Linked DNA regions of Homo sapiens: region 2 is linked to region 1. The links are contacts of gene promoters, found by promoter capture Hi-C in blood cells and fetal thymus (Javierre and others, 2016). All regions are on one chromosome and are shown on one strand. The core of a region is centred on a gene start or on the middle of the fragment in contact, and the rest is flanking DNA. Distances in the headings are between cores, read along the strand shown.

The links. The method cuts DNA at HindIII sites, captures the fragments that hold promoters and counts their contacts. A CHiCAGO score of 5 or more calls a contact.
Region 2: a fragment that was not itself captured here is called in contact with the fragment with the promoter of OXER1 in region 1 in 1 of 17 cell types (naive B cells); the score reaches 5.6 in naive B cells.

The regions. Positions count from the first base shown.
Region 1 is chr2:42,762,708-42,765,407 of GRCh38, forward strand. It overlaps OXER1 (oxoeicosanoid receptor 1), which reads right to left and starts at 1,428. Exons shown (of 1, transcript NM_148962.5): 1 at 1-1,428. The coding sequence starts at 1,355. The coding sequence ends at 201. The HindIII fragment of the contact is 6,399 bases long and covers 1-2,700 here.
Region 2 is chr2:43,578,029-43,580,728 of GRCh38, forward strand. THADA (THADA armadillo repeat containing) reads right to left here. Exons shown (of 38, transcript NM_022065.5): 9 at 485-579. Among named protein-coding and RNA genes, the nearest start is that of THADA, 17 kb to the right of the region's middle. The HindIII fragment of the contact is 1,326 bases long and covers 602-1,927 here.

The DNA.
Region 1 (2,700 bases), core at 178-2,677:
TGCCATCCTGGACACACTGAGAGGCCTAGGTGGGTTTCTCTCCCTGCCACCCACCTGAGTCCTGCCAGTGCTTTGGCCTGGCCCCTGGTCTGCCGCCATCCCTTGTCCAGTTGGTTGAGGCACCGTGTGCTGGCCTTGTCCCTCCAGGCCAGAGCGCGGCAGCCCTTACCCCCACAGCGCTGCAGCCCTGCAGCTGGCCCTCAGCCCTGGGAGGAGCCTTCCTTTTCCAGAGAGACCTCGCCCTGCACTTTCAGCTTCCCTATGGCCTCCGCCTTCCTAGAGGCCTCCCGGTAGCGCCACTGCCTGGAGGGTTGGTAGGAGCTCTCGTCGCTCACTGGGCCCTGCCGGCCCCGCGTGAGGCCCAGCAAGGCCCGGCTCTGGTGGAGGAAGTTGGGGCTAGAGAAGCAGTAGAGCACGGGGTCCAGGACACTGTTGAGGTAGGTGAAGGCCAGGGAGCCATGGAAGAGCTGTGTGCAGAGGTCCAGGGATCGGCAGGCGGACAGCCAGAAAGCCACCATGGAAGCCATGCCAAAGATGATGCTGGGCAAGAAGCAGATGGTGTAGACGGCCACCACCATGGCCAGCACACGCATGGCCCTCTGCGGGCCTGCCTGCCCGCCCAGACCACGGTTCCGGATGGTGAGCCCAATGCTCACAATAGCAAAGAGGATGAGCGCCAGTGGCAGGAAGAACTCCAGCAGGTACAGTGCCTGGTGCCAGCGGAGCGAGGCCGAGGGCTTCGTGCCCACCCTGTAGCTGAGGCAGGAGGGGCCGGAGAAGGTGCTCAGGAGCAGGTGCCCGTTGAGGAGCAGGATGCCCACCCAGAGTCCCCCGGCCACCCGGGCAGCTGCCCCCACGGAAGCACGGCTCAGCACGTGGTGGGGCTGCACCACCTTCAGGTAGCGGTTGAGTGCGATGGCTGTGAGGAAGACAACGCTGGCCGTGCGGTTGGTGGACAGCATGAAGAGGTTGACTTTGCAGGCAGCAGCCCCAAAGCGCCAGGTCTCATGGAGGAGGTAGTAGTCCACGCGGAGGGGCAGGTTGCTGATCAGGAGGAAGTCAGCGGCCACCAGGCTGACCAGGAACACCGTGTTGGAGGTCCAGGGCCGCGTGTGGATGCAGAAGATGAAGAGGGCCAAACTGTTCCCCACCAGGCCCAGGACAAACTCCAGGGCCAGGATTGGTGCCAGGAAGGCAGACACCAGCGAGGAAGAGGTGGGGTGGCAGGGCCCTCCAGAGGACCCCCCCACAGTGGTAAAGGCAGAGGGAGCAGAGGAGGGTGAGGGAGAGAAGGAGGGAGGGAGAACAGAGGAGGAGAGAGAGGGAGATGGAGAGCTCAGGTTATGAAGTTCCATGGGCTGCTTGGGCCATGGGCCTGAGAGAAGGTTCTGGAGTCTTCTACCCCTGCAGGAGTGCTCAGGGCAAAGTGGGATGATTGGCACTATCAGCTGGCCACCACGGTGACACAACATCCTGGGGTTTTCATCAGCATTCTCGCAGCCACTGAGAAACACCCTGTGTTCCTGTTTGCAGGCCAAGGGGAACCCTGCAGCCCTCCCTCCTTCCCTCCGCCTCGGGGTACTGAGTGATCCCACCACATGAGGTCTCTGAGCCCAGCCTGGGGGTTGTGCTGCTGGTAGAGGAGGAAGCAGGGCTCAGCAGGGGCAAGATGGAAGCCCAGAGAAACCCTGAAGTGGGAGGATAGTCCAGCCGGGTGAGGTGGGGGCTCTCAGGATCATGCAGCCCTCCCTGGACACCCCCTCCTCCACTACATATAGAGGCTGGTGGCTGCCTCCCTGCCCCCACCAGCTCTGGCTTCAGGGACTGTGGAGCCAAAAGGACATTGTCCTGAGAGGTAGGCAGGGAGTCAGTGAAGACCTCCACCGCCCTGCTGGTGGCCTGGAGGGAACCAGTCCTATTTGTGCTCCGCCAGCCTGCTGTGTGTCTGAAAGCCCACTGTAGTTCAGCTTTCAGTTGCTCCCAGGTTCCTGATGGTTCCGAAGTCTGTGATGGTCCCAAGTCCGGGTACACGGTGAAGTAGGCCCCATGGACGGGGACGCCCCTGCCAAATTTCTACTGCCATGGCACGGGGAGCTGGGGGCTTCTCCCGCAAATAGAACAATCCTGATTTTTCCCTGTCTGTGTCTCCCCATGGCTCCTTGTCCACTCCACTCCTTGCCCCCATTAGCATTCACTGCGGAATAGGGAGTGGGAGGCTGGGGCTAGCTCCAGACAAGGTACAAGTCCAGCTGTCCCATGGTGAGGTATTCTCATGAGCCCATGGGCTGGTCCTGTGGGTGGAGATGAGGGCTTCAGGCTCCTGATAACCCGGGACAGCAGGGCCAAGGGAGGTGCTGGTTCCAGGCTCCAGGGCCTGACCCCATCACTGCCAACTGGCTGGGGTCAGCAGTCTGCCATGTGTGGCCTGGCCTCTGTGTCCCAGGCACAGTGGCCCCTGGCCTCTCTTGGCTGCCCTGGGCTCCCATTTGGTCAAGGCTGAGGGCAAACATCCCTGGGAGAAGCAGGGTGGTGAGGCCCAGCCTAAGCTCCATATGCAGACAGGCCTGGGTTGGAAACAGAGCTGCCCTATTTCCAAACCTCTCTGAGCCTGATCTGTAAAATCAGGCACTACCACCTTCTTGGAGAGTTGTGAGGATAAAATGAGATAATTTATGTAAAAACTTATAGGCCAGGCACAGT
Region 2 (2,700 bases), core at 15-2,514, 820 kb after region 1:
TTTGTTATTGTTGCTTTATCTGAATTTTTGGAATTGTCTCTTATTATAACAGAAAAAGGTCATCAGAAGGAACCAGACAATGCAAAAAAAAATTATTTTAATTCACTTCTTTAAAAATATTTTTAATTTTTTTTTTTTTTAAGAGACAAGGTCTCACTCTGTTGCCCAGACTGGTGCAATCTTATCTCACTGCAGCCTTAAACTCCTAGGCTCAAGCGATCCTCCTACCTCAACCTCTCAAAGAGCTGGGACTACAGCTGTGCACCACCATACCCAGCAAATTTTCTTTTTTTTTTTTTGTAGAGACAAGGTCTAGCTAAACTCCCCAGGCTAATCTCAAACTCCTGGCCTCAAGTGACCCTCCTGCCCTGGCCTCCCAAAGTGTTGGGATTATAAGTGTGAGCCACTGCACCAAGCCAAAATTATTTTTTAAACATACCCTAACTCTCAATAAAGTACAATTCTAAAAAGGAGATGCACTTACCAAATGAGGAATCTTTTCAGACGGGTGAAACATAGTCTTAATAAAAAGAATAATAGCTAATCCAGATGTGCTCTGTACAGTCTGTAACAGATCATCTATTTGGCAAAAAAGGAGAGAAGCTTGTGTTAAATAATGAATATTCTGGTAGAGTGGAAAGAGCAGATGCTGAGCAGCCAGATAGGCCTGGGTACAATTTCTAGTCTGACCACTTCCTGGGTGAATAGGTCTTACCTAAGTTATTTAACATCCCACAGACTCTCTTTTCTCTTGGGTAAAATGGGATAACTCTTAACTGAGGCAGTGTCAGGTTTAGATGAATAATGAACATAAACGCTTTTTAGAAGGAGTCTCACTCTGTTGACAGGCTGGAGTGTAGTAGCGTGACCTCAGCTCACTGCAACCTCTACTTCCTGGGTTCAGGCGATTCTCCTGCCTCAGCCTCCCAAGTAGCTGGGACTACAGGCGCGTGCCACCACACCCAGCTAATTTTTGTATCTTTAGTAGAGATGGGGTTTCACCACGTTGGCCATGATGGTCTCGATCTCTTGACCTTGTGATCCGCCTGCCTCGGCCTCCCAAAGTGTTGGGATTACAGGCATGAGCCACTGTGCCCGGCTGAATATAAAGGCTTTTAAGCCCAGCATATAGATACTCAATAAACGTGATTCCTTCCTCTCTCCTCTAACATACACTTTCTTCCTCGCCAACTATTGCTTCCCAAAACACCTAACAGCAACACCACCTGTCCCCTCCCCTCCACCAATGCCTCTGTATCCCAATCACCATATACACAGACTTTTTCAAAAAGAGATTTCAGGGCTTGTATAAAGAATGTAGGTAAGTGCTAATTACAAACTTTGCTAGCACTGACACTGTACCCATAGCAACCAAACAGTTTTGACTTGGTATCTTCTTTTTGTTTTATCTCTATTAGCCTCTAATACCATGGTGAGTTGTTCAACCTGGGGAAAGAAGTAACACTTCTTTATGACATCATAAACTACGTACTAAATATCCACTCTGCCCTTCATCACTGATAAGAAAACTGTGACTTTGATTGGGGAAGCCACATGCCCAGCCAAAAGCAGGATACTTGCTTCTTCAATCTTCTTTGCAACTAAAGGTAGGCATATAAGAGGGTTCAGGCCAGTTGGATTTAAGCCAGTCACTTGAGTATCCTGATCAAAAGTAAAGACGCAACTGGCCTTCCTTCTTCCTGCCTTGAATAAAGACACATCTGGAGCTACAGCAGTCATATGGCAACCACGAGGCAACAAACGTGGGTGAAAACCAACCTGCTGAAGATGGCACAGCAGAAAAGCAGAAAATGTGTGGGTCGTACACTGCCTATACCAGTTCTGGATGACCTGCCTCTGAACTTGTTATGTGGGAAAGGAGGTTTGGTTTTCAGTTACTTGCAGCTAAACACTTTACTGATTATGAAGCTTTAAAATGCTGGAAAAGAATAGTACTGATTAGGTGCCATCAACTTTTCGGAAAAAAAGCTACTTCTTTTTTTTTTTTTTTTTTTGAGACGGAGGCTTGCTCTGTTGCCAGGCTGGAGTGCAGTGGCATGATCTTGGCTCACTGCAACCTCTGTCTCCCGGGTTCAACTGATTCCCCTGCCTCAGCCTCCCGAGTAGCTGGAACTACAGGTGCACGCCACCACGCCCAGCTAATGTTTTTTTTTGTATTTTAGTTTTTTAGTATTTTAGACAGGATTTCATCATGTTGGCCAGAATGGTCTCAATCTCCTGACCTCGTGATCTGCCCGCCTTGGCCTCCCAAAGTGCTGGGATTACAGGCATGAGCCACCACACCCGGCCGAAGTTACCTCATATTAAAATCATGTATTCTCTACATTTCATTAGTTAGAGAATCTTTTTTTTAGACTAACACAGTCCTCTTTTAAAAAGTAAATAACCTCTGAAAAGTTTTCTGTAAGTTATGTCTTAATAAAAGTAACTTTAACTACTTTCCTTTCCTTTTAATACCTGAGAACCCAGGCAAAAAGAGAAATAGAAATACTAATTGGACAAAATATAGCTAAGACTTTCATTACCAGGGTTAAAAACACAAACAATGAGGCCAGGCGCGGTGGCTCACACCTGAGCCACTTTGGGAGGCCAAGGCGGGCAGATCACCTGAGGTCAGGAGTTCCAGACCAGCCTGGCCAACATGGTGAAAGCCCGTCTATATTAAAAATACAAAAAAAA